Regions from separate parts of the Homo sapiens genome. Here region 1 is linked to region 2. Evidence: promoter capture Hi-C in human tissues and cell types (Jung and others, 2019). All regions are on one chromosome and are shown on one strand. The core of a region is centred on a gene start or on the middle of the fragment in contact, and the rest is flanking DNA. Distances in the headings are between cores, read along the strand shown.

What was found. Contacts are between HindIII fragments. The study calls those that stand out against the background at their distance.
Region 1: a fragment that was not itself captured here is called in contact with the fragment with the promoter of SLC1A4 in region 2 in 1 of the 25 tissues and cell types used here (liver).

The regions. Positions count from the first base shown.
Region 1 is chr2:64,631,934-64,638,408 of GRCh38, forward strand. SERTAD2 (SERTA domain containing 2) reads right to left here. Exons shown (of 2, transcript NM_014755.3): 2 at 1-4,942. The coding sequence starts at 4,938. The coding sequence ends at 3,994. SERTAD2-AS1 (SERTAD2 antisense RNA 1) reads left to right here and starts at 4,991. Exons shown (of 2, transcript XR_940172.3): 1 at 4,991-6,475. The HindIII fragment of the contact is 5,305 bases long and covers 1-3,970 here.
Region 2 is chr2:64,984,177-64,990,852 of GRCh38, forward strand. It overlaps SLC1A4 (solute carrier family 1 member 4), which reads left to right and starts at 5,223. Exons shown (of 8, transcript NM_003038.5): 1 at 5,223-5,994. The coding sequence starts at 5,468. RefSeq lists enhancers at 1,240-1,309, 1,620-1,689, 5,225-5,809 and silencers at 4,533-5,232, 5,443-5,622. The HindIII fragment of the contact is 13,271 bases long and covers 1-6,676 here.

The sequences.
Region 1 (6,475 bases), core at 68-2,567, 360 kb before region 2:
GTTATCCCCAAAAGAAGTCCAACTTTTTATTGGCTTTGTCTGCAATAGCATTTGATCCTGGCTAATTTTCAAGAACCATTCAGACTCATTCTTAGAAACACTGAAAACAATTGTACATAAGCAGGATGCACACAACTCCATGCCTCCAGGTGCGGGGCAGTTACAGGAAGGTAACCATTTACAGCCAGAAAAGGTTAAATATACTCTTTTCATTGTTTTCAGAAAATGTATAAAGGTCCAATTTGTAACAGCAAGGTTTTCAAATTAAGACAATTCGTATAGAGTAGCAATTGCTGCACGAAGTAGAGTCTTTTTTTTTTTTTTTTTTACATTTGTCATTTAAGAAGGCTGCCCTGCGGTATTCATAATTCATTGTTTACCACAAAGGTGGTTCATAAATTTAAGCTTTAAAAACGATCTGTAAGTTGATACTTTGGCTCTTTGGAGCTTATTTCATTAAGAAATTTTCCTTGATTGACCTCAGGGCAGCTGGGGCACTCCAAGGGGCTATGGCGATAAAAAGCTCAATTGGTAAAGACACTCGAGAGGTGCAGAGGAGGCTCTGGCCACTGCTCACCCTTTGGTATGAACAAGGGTGCCCATGTGGTTGCTCCTTCTGTCATCCAGAGAAAGTGCTACTAAAAAAACTTTAAAAAATATCAACCCTTTGATGCTTTTCTTAAAAATTTGGAGGTATTAAAACATTCCTCATACCTTTTGCATATTTCAAATAGACCCATATTAGAGAAGAGTAAAAATGAATGCGGACTGTGCATACAATGAGAAGACCTGGGGGCCTGGCTTGGACCCCCTTTTAATACAGATTTACATTCCTACAAGAGAATACATTCCTACCATACATTCTGCACATGTTACGATCCAGATGTTAGCGCTCCACAGTAAAATAAATATATTTACACAGAAAAAAGGAATAAATAACTTATGGGGGGAAAAAAACTCACTTCAAATTCAAAGCTCTTACGATTCTGCTCTCATCTTGTCACTTCATTGCACATCAGTGTCAATAACTGTCCTCTCCCAGCCCCAGCTCGGTTTTCTCGTAAAGGCACCTCAAGCTGCCTGCCTGGCCCTGGATGCCATGTGATGTCTTTCATAAAGGGAAGGCACTGCTGGAAGCACATCCCACACTCAAACTGGGACTTGGAGATCCCACTCCAGCTCCTACTGTTCCCTGTTGGGACATCACTTTGTAAGAATAGGATGCAAAAGCAATTAGAACCCTAGATCATTTTGATCTTTCTGAAAATGGGCTGCTAATTTTCCATGTCTTTCTTGTTAGACTTTGAGTATCAGGGATTTATGGCAACGGTGTCAGAGTTAAAAAGCATTTGCCTGCTGTTTTTGGGGTTTTTGTTTTGATTTTGAAGCCCAGCCTTACAAATACATAAGAGTCAGAGAACCAAGTTTGGGCAACACTTCTCCGTGCTTATTTGAACTGTTGCCCAACATATGGGATTTGTTTAAACACATGATTTGCTAATCCAACAAAAGTACAGTTGTTGTAAGTTACTGTAAATCAGTTTTTAACAATGGCAAACCAACTGTTTTACCCTGTTATTGTTCAGAATCATCAATACTATTGTATATGTGTACGTAGGTAGATGTGTGCAGCATGCGGCAGGTTTGCCAGGTCCTCCAGTTATAGAAAGCATGGAATCTGGGCAGACTTGTTCTCTGCAAGAAAGGGAAGCTCTTAAAATTAACAGGCATACTGACACTGGAAGCATCTACTACAACCCTCACCTCAGTTACATGGTCCCTGGTCCTATTAAAGGAAATGACACACCTGTAGCAGTACGAGGTGTCTGCGTGGAGGTTGCTTGTAGGAGAACAAGTGCAATTTGATCAGTTTCTCACTGCTCTACTGAGCTGATAATTAGCCTTTAAAACACATTCAAGTGGGGGGAAAAAGTAAATTAGAATGTAGAAAGCCTTTATCATATCATACTCAAATCTTTTGCTTAGATGAGCAGTTCCTTCATCACAAACGTCTTTGCTTTGCCATGTGCATTACAAAAATAAAACTAACTATGGCTTGCTTAAAGTGCCATTTTATAAAGTTGTCTTTTTTAATTAGCCAGAAAGACCCAATTTTATCCATGGCAAGAAGTGAGCAGAATTGGTGACTGAATATTGACAAATGACCAACAACAAAGACAACAACAACAACAAAACATCCCATAATTTAAAAATTTTTAAATAAATATAAAAGTTATTCCTAAAGAAGCCATCTGCATAACAATATAGGTTGTAACCTGCACTCAACAGCTAAAGTACCATTGGAAGAAAAGAAAAAACTGAAACAAGAAGGCCATAAACAGTTTCGGCAACAAGCATGATACATTGCAACCTTTTTAAAATTAAATGTACACCACTAGGAATAAAAAGCTACTTCTCAAGTGTGTCCTGGGAGATAAGGTGATGGGGGGGGGAATTGGGGGGAGGAGGGAAAACATGCATAGAAAGTCCTGTCTGAGTTTTGGGGTAAAACAGCCTTGACAAGTGTGAAGTAGCTGACTCAGGAAAGCAACCAGATGGGAAGCTGTGACGTAATGTGATGAACTCCAGGTTCAAGAGTCACACATGTTGTAAGAGTGCATCCCGGGCCGGCCGAGGCGAGCCAAGCTCACTGTGGTGATCACGAAGATGCCATTTTCAGCTCTTAGCAACACAGGGAAAGCTCTAGGGAAAGGAAGCTGCAGAAGACAATTAAGCAACATGATGGATGCCTTCTGGGGAGATTTTCTTCTTTAAGGGCCCTAAGCATTGCAACAGGGCTGAGTTCCATGAAGAAGTTGGTTGCTTTTCGGATGTAAAATTTTGTTCGGATGTAAAATTTCAGGTCATCATAAAAATTATGCCAAAAAGGAAAGATCTGGGTTTTCATTAAAAAACAAAATAAAAACAATTAAAAGCGCAAACTTGGCATAAATACACTCTTAAGAAAGACAGTAGCTTTACCCTCAAAAGAGGGAGCAAAAGAGAACCATCACTTAAACCCCCAGCTCCACAGCCATCTCCCGCCAACTGCTTAATGCAAGTTTGATGAGCACATGTGGCTCTGGCTTTGGAAGTCACAGTACTGGCGGGTGTTGGTGCCAGGGGGTCAGTGCTTGTGAAATTTGGGTGTGATATCACCTGGCCCTTTCTTAAAGCACTGTGTGTGTGTTTATGGGTGTGTGCATGTGTGTGCCTGTGTTTGCATTTGGGGACATCAACTGCAGATTGATTTGATCCAATTTTCTCTTGCACCATACACATATAAAACATTACAACTCTATAAAAGTACAAGTGCAACTTGTACATCTGAAGTTTGCAGGAACTATGTGAGCAAATCCTATCAAAATAGCTATCTCATATGTATAAACAGCATTTGTTTTTAGAAAAACAATATCATAAACTGCAGAATCTGTACAAAAATATAAAATAAATTTGGGCAGCAGTTTTCTAAACAGCCATGTAAATGCAACACTTACGAGGAGTAGTTAATGCCTCTAAAAAGGCCGAATTGCCAAGTCAACCTATACAGGGCAAAAATGCCAGAAAAGGTACTGAGATTATCTAAATAAGATATATATATATAGTTTTCTTCTTTACCTCTTGCAATAAAACTTATAGAAAAAATAGACAAATATGCACATGCAATTTACAGCTTTTCCAACTTAATCCTTGTGCTTCACTTGAACTGTTTATTTTTGTCATTCAACATTGCAACATTGTCTTCAAATGGATTCTTTCCTATACCAGGGTAGTAGGTCTCTGAGGAACCACTCAAAAAAGTGTATTAAAAGTGGTCATACTTGGATGAAGGCACTCCAACTCTGCTCAAAGCAAAAACTAGTGTGATCCTGTTGTAAAATTTTCTTTTTCTCTGAAAAAGGCAAGCAAGGGTGCATGCACAGTGTGGAGAACTGTCAGGGTTATGGGAACGCTCTGGGGTCTGGGTGGGCATAGTCGCTGGGTCCCTGGGTCTTAGGACCCAACAAGCACCTCCATGATGTGGTCCAGCTCTGTGAGGTCCATTTTGAAAGGCTGACTTGGGGTGACAGGCTGACTGCTGTAAGGAGCCAGAGTTTTGAGGAGGTCGTCGGCAGACACAGGGGCCATTTTTGAGGCTGTCCCTGATGAGGAAGTGCAGGGGTCAAAATCATACATGGACGTATCAATGTCAGCAAACAGGATGTCATCCAGGGTCAAGTCTGTCAGGAAACCCGTGGACGTCGTTATTTCAAAATTCCCAGGCAGAGAGTCCATCAGTTTTGAGTCATCTGCGCGGCTCTCTTGAGGACCGTCGAGTTTCTGGGTGCCAGCCTCGCTGGAGGTCCCTTTCACACTGTCAGTCGCAGCCGTGGCCGCCTCTGTGGAGGTAGATGTGGGACAGAGCTCCTCGATCTCGTCCAAGGCAGAGGAGAAACTGTCCTTTTCTGGCAAGAGGGCTGGAGGTGACAGTTTGGTGGGAGCCGTGGGCTGCATGGCCTGGGAGGTGCAAAACGTGTCATCGTCGTCCTCGAGCAGTGAGGCCGGGGTGAGGCAGGCCTCCAGGGGCGTAGTGCTTCCGAGGTCGCAGGGGTGGGAGGACGGGGACGCCAGGTGGCTGAAGGCCGGCGGGGCCTCTCGGTAGCTGTCGCTGGGCTCGGTGGTGGGCTGGGAGGAGGGGGTGAACATGGGCCTCAGGCTGCCTTCCTGTTTGAGTTCCTCCTGGATCCGCCTCAACATGTTGTTAATTAAAACGGTCTTTTGCAAGCTGGGCTCTGTCAGGGGCCTGTGGTTATAGAGTTTCATAAGGGAAATGTTGAAGATAGTCTGGCGCTGTAAGGTGTAAGACACCTTGGATGGACCGTCACAGGGAGACACGATTTTGCCTTCCAGCCCATCTTCATGCTCATCAAACTTCCGTTTTCCTCCTTTACCCAACATATATCTGCAGAGGGGAGAGAGAGGAAATGGCATTAATCACATGAAAGCTGATTTCTCCCATAAAAAAAGAGACTGATTTAGAGGGCAGGACTTGGACCTCAGTTTCCTGCCCAGGGTTATTTACAAGTACACGTGGATTAATTAGGGGTGGGAGGAAGGAAGACCTTTTACAATAAGAGAGAGTTAGAAAATCCACCTTTGTATGCCTGTGGAGCAATTTTTATCACTAGGTAGTCTGGTGAGTGTATTTCTTGAGAAATGTGTACGACACAGACAAGTTAAGAATTACCATGGAAACCATGATTTTGACTTTCTCAGCTCATGTGCTTGTGTTCGCATGCCTAAGATTATCATGCAGGTTCGATTTCCCTCCCCCACGTAGATTTATTTTTAAAGCCCAAGAAAACACTTACAATGCTATGACCTAAACAGATACAGGTGTCATAGATTACAGCTTGAGCACTTCTTAAAGGATTAAAAGAACCAAGTTAAAGAAAGGTAACATGTATAATTTGGGTAGAACTGTGTGTGCTTTCAAAATGCTTTTCCTTCCTCATTAAGCACGGAGTCTTTCTGCCTGGTTGGGGACATGTGGTGAAGCACTGCACCTGTGTTAAATGACCACAGTGACTGAGCCGCCGCCACTTTTCATTTAGAATCAAGGGGAGGAATGCGTATGTCCCAGCCTAAGTTCTTCCTTGGCTCAACTTCATCCACACACAGTTATGTTTGAAGACAACTGGATTAATTTTGAAGTAATTAGCTCTGATTATAAGCATTGCTGTTTGGGTACTCGAGACATTTCCTAACAAACTACCTCCTGTGATTCCAGAGATACATGCATATTTTGAGGAAACCATGACCTCATATCTCAGACCCTGAGAATCTGGTAATGGGTTGAATTTTAAAACTGCAGCCAGGAACTCCTGCCCCATCTTGCCTGCTGCTCACAGGCCAGGCTGTGTCCTCTCTTGCTCTGGCCTTAGTGAATACATTTTATCAACTGGTTGTCACCTTCTGGGGAGTGGGCCTTCCAACTTTCCAAGATCATGTGACATCGTCACAACCTCCTTTCAGAACTTCTACTGTCTAAACAGAACAATCTCAAGTTCATTAGCCTTTGCCTCAAAGATCTCACTTTCTAACCATTTAACAAGAAACCTGTCTTTTGGTGTTCGGACCAGGATCGTGGTTCGAATGAAGCCAGGCCCATGCTTGCTCCCTCACCGTCCCCGCCTCCAGCTACAGCACTCTCAGGGACTCCTGCTAATCCTGTCCTCAGTGTGACTCACTCTCATGTCTTCATATACAGGCAACTGCTTTGTAGTTATTCAATTTCTCTTCTAAATGCCACTTACCTTTTAATGAACTGCTTCAGCTGATTGATCACACCTCATTCAATCCTTTAATAACTTATCCACATCTACACTGTCATAGGCATTTGGCCAGGCCCAGTGGGGAGTCCCACATGAACACCCTGGCCTTCAAGAGGCTAAATAGCCCCTCCTACACCTGATCACCATTTTGAATTTCAAGT
Region 2 (6,676 bases), core at 3,973-6,472:
TTGCATTTCCCTGATAATTAGTGATGTTGAACATTTTTTATAGACTTATTGGCCATTTGTATGCCTTCTTTTGAGATATGTCTATTCAAGTCCTTTGCCCATTTTTTAATCGGGTTATTTGTTTTCTTTCTGTTGAATTGTTTGAGTTCCTTATATATTTTGGATATTAACCGCTTATCAGATGTCTGGTTTGCAAATATACTCTCCCACTCTGTAGGTTGTCTCTTCCTTCTGTTGATTGTTTCCTTTGCTCTGCAGAGCTTTTTAGTGTGACATAATCCCATTTGTCTGTTTCCCCTTTTGTTGCCTGTGCTTTGGGGTCATATTTTTAAAATATCATTTCCCATACCAATGCCATGATGCTTTTCTCATATTTCTCATATTTTCTTCTAGTAGTTTAACAGTTTCAGGTCTTAAATTTAAGTTTTTAATCCATTTTGAGTTGATTTTCGTATATGGTGTGAGATGAGGGTTTAATTGCATTCTTCTGCATATGGATATCCAGTTTTCCCAGCACCATTTATTGAGAGACTGTCCAAAGCAAATTTCTAGTAGAGTTGTCTAAAGAAACACCAGAGCTAGGGCAAGTAGTGACTTATGTGTGCTGCGCTGGCCCACAAAACACGAGTATTTAAGCAGTAATGTTACTGTGGATTGAAGATGGCTGCAAATTCTTGATTATTCCCACCATGGAGTGATGGGATCTAATTCTCCTCCTTTGAATTTGGGCTGGCCTTAATGATTTGCTTGACTGACAGAATGAGAAAGAAGTAATGTTCTGGGACTTCTGAGGTTAGGTCAGAAGAAGTCTTGCAGCTTCTACCTACATTTCTTAAGACACTCACTTTGGGGGAAATCAATCACTACATAAGAGATTTGACTTCACCAAGATTGCCATACTGTGAGGAAACCCAAGCTAGCCACACTGAGAGAGCAACAGATGCCCAGCTAGCCCCAGCAGATCCAAACCCACTAGCCAAGGTGCCAGTCGTGTGAATGAAAGAGGCATCTTGGACATTCCAGACTCAATAGATGCAATGTGGGAAAGAAACGAGGATCCTAATAGATAGCCAGAACCTAGGCCTCAGGCAAAGGACCCCAAGTGAGCTGTCCTAGCCATCTCTAGCCATTAAGCCACCCCAGCTTGGGGTTTCAGTCATTGTGAAACAGAAATGAGACCTCCTGTTATGCCCTGTCTGAATTTCTGGCCTATAAAATCATGAGCATAAAAAAATTGGTGGTTGTTTTATGCCACTCCTTTTTGAGATGGTTGTTGTTTTATGCCAGCGTGGTTTAGGCTGGTTTGTTATGCAGCAACAGATAACTGGAACAGATGCTGAAGTGAGCATTTGTATTACTCAGTTATTGCTACAATAACGCAGTATAACACATGACTCCGGAACTCAGTGGGTTTCAATAAGCATTTATTTTTCTCACGCATGGGTCTGTGGGTTGACTGGGGTGTTCTTCTTTAGGCTGTGAGGCAGCTGGGTTTGATCAGGGCTGCAGGCTAAATTCAGGCACACTCCTGTCTTTGTTCTGGTGCCAGGCTGAAAGGGCAGCATCTACCCAAGGCATGCTGGGTCACACGTATGCAGGAGTCCACATGCGATTGTGTGAAAACATTTTGATGCCTCCGCTTGCATCACATCCACTTAGTCCACTAGCCAAGGAGCTAAATGGCAAAGCTCAAAGGCAATGGGGAAGGTAAACTCCTATCTAAGTGGAAGAAACAAGGGAATAAATTTTGGCTGAACAATACTTTAGCCTATCACGGGATCAGATGACAGTAGCGGTAATGCTGTCAGGCTGGATCACTTGTAAGGCGTTGCTATAATTCAGTACTTACGCATCCAGAAATCAGGGAAAACACATATAAGTACTGTGGGGGAAGGTGTCTAACACAGGAATCAACTTTTTTTTTGCACAAAATACCTACAAACAGGAGGCATGTAAAATTATCAAAAGACCAAAAAATGCAAAAGGAGAGGAAGAAAGAGGGAAAAAGGTGGCAGAAAGTGAACCCTTTCATAGAGAGATATAGTAATACCACCAAATGTCACGGAGGCCAGAAGAGGACACCTATTTCTTGGTTTGCCTCACAAGTAGGCAGAATGGCTACAGGGCAGCCCTCTGGAGATAAAAGGCCCCAAGAGACCCTTTCGCTAATTCAATGACAGATATATGTGGCATAGTATAAGGCACCCCCAAACAGTGCTCTCACACTCAGCACCACACGATGTCTAGTAGTTCAGGGAGTTCCCCACTCCCAATTGAGGGTTGACTGACTGTTATTGCAGCTTTGGAGTGCACAGGTACAGCATAAAAAGCTGCAAGCAGCAAGCAGAGTTGGTGCAAAGAGGATTCAGAAAGGCTATGGGAGGAATGTGGTATCTGAACTGGGACTGGATGGAGAGGCAAAACAATGTGGAAGGAGCACACAGCGCCATTTTTGCAGGAGGCATAGAGGGCACATGGCTAGAGAGCAGGCTGAGGCCAGATCATGGTAGGTCTCGAATGCCAGGATGAGGAACACATTCTTAATTCACTGGGAGCCACTGAAAGCTTTTGAACAAGAAGTGATATGAAGGAGTTGTCCTCCAATATCATTTTTCTGTGTTTCCTTAGTAACAGAAACTCCAATTTTTTAACTGGGTGGATGCCTGTGTAAAACAAAAATTACATTCCCTAACGTTTCTTGCAGAAAAGAATGGTCATTTGACTAAATTCTTATCGATGAAATATAAGAGAAATAATGTGTATGACTTTTAGGAAGTGTTTTTAAAGAGAGATGCCATGCCCTCATTGCTCTTTCTTTTCTGCTGGGTGAAAGCTGAACTTTATCCTAACATGTATATTACTCATTAGGAAGATTAGCCTGGGGCAAGGCAAAATACAGGATGGTTGGAACAAGAGGAGCATTGGAGGTGGGAAGACTAATTGGGAGAACATTTCAATAGCCCAGATAAGAAGTGAGGAAATAAGAACTGAGCCAGTGTGGTAGCAGTGGGAATAGATGGGATGGGCAGATGTGATAAATATTGTGAAAGGAATCTCTGTGGGACTTGGCAATTCATTAGATGAGAGAAGGCACCACAGAGGGAAGAATCAAAGTTCGCTTTGAAGTTTCACACAGAGGTGACTGGGTCATCAATTATGTTTTAACCGAAGGGATGAGCAGGTTTGAGGAAGGCAACCATGAGTTTGGTTTTGAACATTTTAGTTGGGACGCCTGCAGGATATTCAGGTGAAGATGTAAAACAGGCAGCCGAAGACTCATTTCTGGAGCATGATTTGAGAGTCTTTTGCATAAACGTGGTAGTCAAAACAAAGGGAAGGGCTGATTGGCAAAACACAGTGTGTGTCTGTAGGAATTACTCTTTCTTCAGTGCACATAGAGAAATGAACTGCATTCTGGAAAGCCAGATATAAATATGTGCAGCTCTTCATCTGACACTACCTCCCCCGCCCACCCCCCCCCCCCCCACACACAATCCTTACAAGTTCTAGCCAATAGCTGGCTGGCTCCAAGCAATAAAATACTCACTGTCTCAAAATTTGGACAGCTCCTTAAAGTTCCTTATGAAGGCATTTTGATTTGCACAAATATGTCATGACATGTTTTAAGATGACTCCTTTATAGCAAGAAATCTATAGTAAATTGCCTTCCTCCTTAATTGAGGTTAGCCACAATTAAGTCTTCCCTTGCCTGGCACAGTGGGTGGTGCCAGCTACCAAGGAGGATCCCATAAGCCCAGGAACTGGGAGACCAGCCTGGGCAACATAGCGAGACCTTGTCCCAGAAAGAGAGGAAAGAAAGGAAAGAAAGGGAAAGAAGGAAAGAAGGAAGGAAGGGAGGGAGGGAGGGAGGGGGGGAGGAAGGAAGGAAGGAAGGAAGGAAGGAAGGAAGGAAGGAAGGAAGGAAAAAGAAAAAACAAAAGACCACCCACGGAAGTCTTTAAAGAACAATTCACAAGCAGAATAAAAAAATATAAAAATATAATAACTGTGATACAGTAAAAAGACTCAGCAGAAGTTTCCCTTGTAACTCGCGTGGCCAAAGCAGATATCAAATAAAAGATGAAATAAACAGGAAATCCATAGAACGTGAACAATAAGGAACCGTTCAGGATGGCCAAACCGCCGTCTGCGCTGTTTTCTCGCCAGGGCTCAGGCCTGGGAACGGAAGAGGTTAAAATCCAGTGGCTTGTGTTTCAGCTTTGGTTACGTGGCAGAAACCAACTGGAAGTGGTGGCGTGAGAGCTCTGTTTCTTCTAGAAGAGCTTTGCGTCTTAAACGCCCATACCGCAGACAGCTGCCTGGCGGGCGACCCAGCCCCATCCTGATGGCCCCAGGACACAAGCCCAGGAGCGCCCCGGTGCGCGCGGTTCCGCGGCCCAGGGGCGCCGGGTTTGGTGGCACAGCGAGCCCCCTTTCTCTAGCGGTATGGCTGCGTTAGAGCCCTAATGAGCGCGTGCGAAGGCTCCCCTTATTCATCCATCCTCCGGTCCGTCCTTTGTCTCAAGGCCGGGGCCTTGCTGGGCACCATGGCGTGCTTTACCGCACAAGCCCCTGAGGACCCCTGGAAGAAGGGATCTTCCGCAGGAGGGGACGCGACGGCAGGACCGCCCCGGGCCCCCTCACCGCGCCCGGCCCCCTGGCGGGAGAGGCCGGCGAGCTCTGGAGAGGAGCGCGGGCCGCGCGGGGCGAAAGCGCCACCCGGGAGAGAGGGATCCTCCCCTCTCCTCCTCTCTTCTCCCCTCCCCTCCCTCCCCTCCCACAGTCCTCAGGAGGAGGAACGCCGCTGCGTTCTAAGTTCTCCCGGGCCCTCTGGCCCCGAGGACTCAGATCCCGGCCGCGGGAGAGGGCCCGGCAGGTGCCAAGGAGCCCGGGCGGTCCTTCAGCCCGCACTTCCCCGCGGTCGCCCGGAGCCGGCCTCCGTTAGCCGGGCGGGTAGGCGGCTATTGGCGCCAGGATTGGCCGGCGCCGCCCGCGCCCCCGCGGCCTCGGGTGGAGCCTCCCGCCCGGCCGCCCCCTGCGGCACCCGCGACACGGGTGGGGACCAGAGGCTCCCGGCGGCGGCTCCCGGCGGCGGCTCCCGGGCTGTGATTGGCCAGCGCCACAGGGGGCGGGACGGCGGGCGTGAAGTGAGCGGGCTGGGGCCGCTGGCGCGCCCTCCTACTTCCCCGTCTGCGTCCGCGTTCGCGGCTCCCGTTTGCATCATCTCCAGCCGGCGGCTGCTCCAGGGAGGCTGGGCGCGATCCTCTCCGCCCGCGGCTCCAACCCGCACTCTGCGCCTCTCCTCGCCTTTCTCGCACCTGCTCCTGCGCCAGGCCCGGAGACCCCCGGGGCGGCTTCCCAGAACCTGCGGAGCACAACTGGCCGACCGACCCATTCATTGGGAACCCCGTCTTTTGCCAGAGCCCACGTCCCCTGCCACCTCTAGCTCGGAGCGGCGTGTAGCGCCATGGAGAAGAGCAACGAGACCAACGGCTACCTTGACAGCGCTCAGGCGGGGCCTGCGGCCGGGCCCGGAGCTCCGGGGACCGCGGCGGGACGCGCACGGCGTTGCGCGGGCTTCCTGCGGCGCCAAGCGCTGGTGCTGCTCACCGTGTCCGGGGTGCTGGCGGGCGCGGGCCTGGGCGCGGCGTTGCGCGGGCTCAGCCTGAGCCGCACGCAGGTCACCTACCTGGCCTTCCCCGGCGAGATGCTGCTCCGCATGCTGCGCATGATCATCCTGCCGCTGGTGGTCTGCAGCCTGGTGTCGGGCGCCGCCTCGCTCGATGCCAGCTGCCTCGGGCGTCTGGGCGGCATCGCTGTCGCCTACTTTGGCCTCACCACACTGAGTGCCTCGGCGCTCGCCGTGGCCTTGGCGTTCATCATCAAGCCAGGATCCGGTGCGCAGACCCTTCAGTCCAGCGACCTGGGGCTGGAGGACTCGGGGCCTCCTCCTGTCCCCAAAGAGACGGTGGACTCTTTCCTCGACCTGGCCAGGTAACACTCTCCACCTCTCCCAGGGCCCAGTGGGAGACGCCAGTTCTCGGATGCCCTCCAGTTCATACACCCATATGCTTATACACTCCTAAGAGTTAATTCTTAGCTGGCTGCTGGTGGCGTTTAACGTTTTAAAAATATCAAAATGACGTCTGGAGTTTTTGCGTGCTGACCACACCTTTGCAAACAGCTGGGGCGCACCGCACAATCGAAAGAGCAGGGCCGCATCTTTGAGCAAGAACCAGTCCCCACCGTTAGGTGGGCGTTTGTTAGGGAAGAGCCAGCCGCCCCGCCTGTTCTTTACTCCTTATACTCTCGCGCTGCTCTCCCCGGTAAAAATGTTCCGACCACGCCCCAGTGGCTTCGCCTCATTTTCTCCCACATGGTGCCTAAAAGCTTCTGGGAGCATTGGTTAAGTTTTGCCTCTTGGGTCATCCGGCTTGCAATCTATGGCCTTCTCTGTTACAGTCCTTGGCTGCGAAGGAAGCTGGCAATTTTCTGCAGTTATCAGTGGACCCACGGATAATAGGGCTGGGGTTAGTTGAGTGAGACATATTGCCCAGAAATATGCCTCTCCTGAGGGCTTGGGGCTTGGGACAGGTTGCTGTCCACCCCAGTAAAGACCACGGCAGAGTGCTGTGTTTCAAAGGCCTTTCTTTGTGCGAAAGTGTGAGTTCTAGAG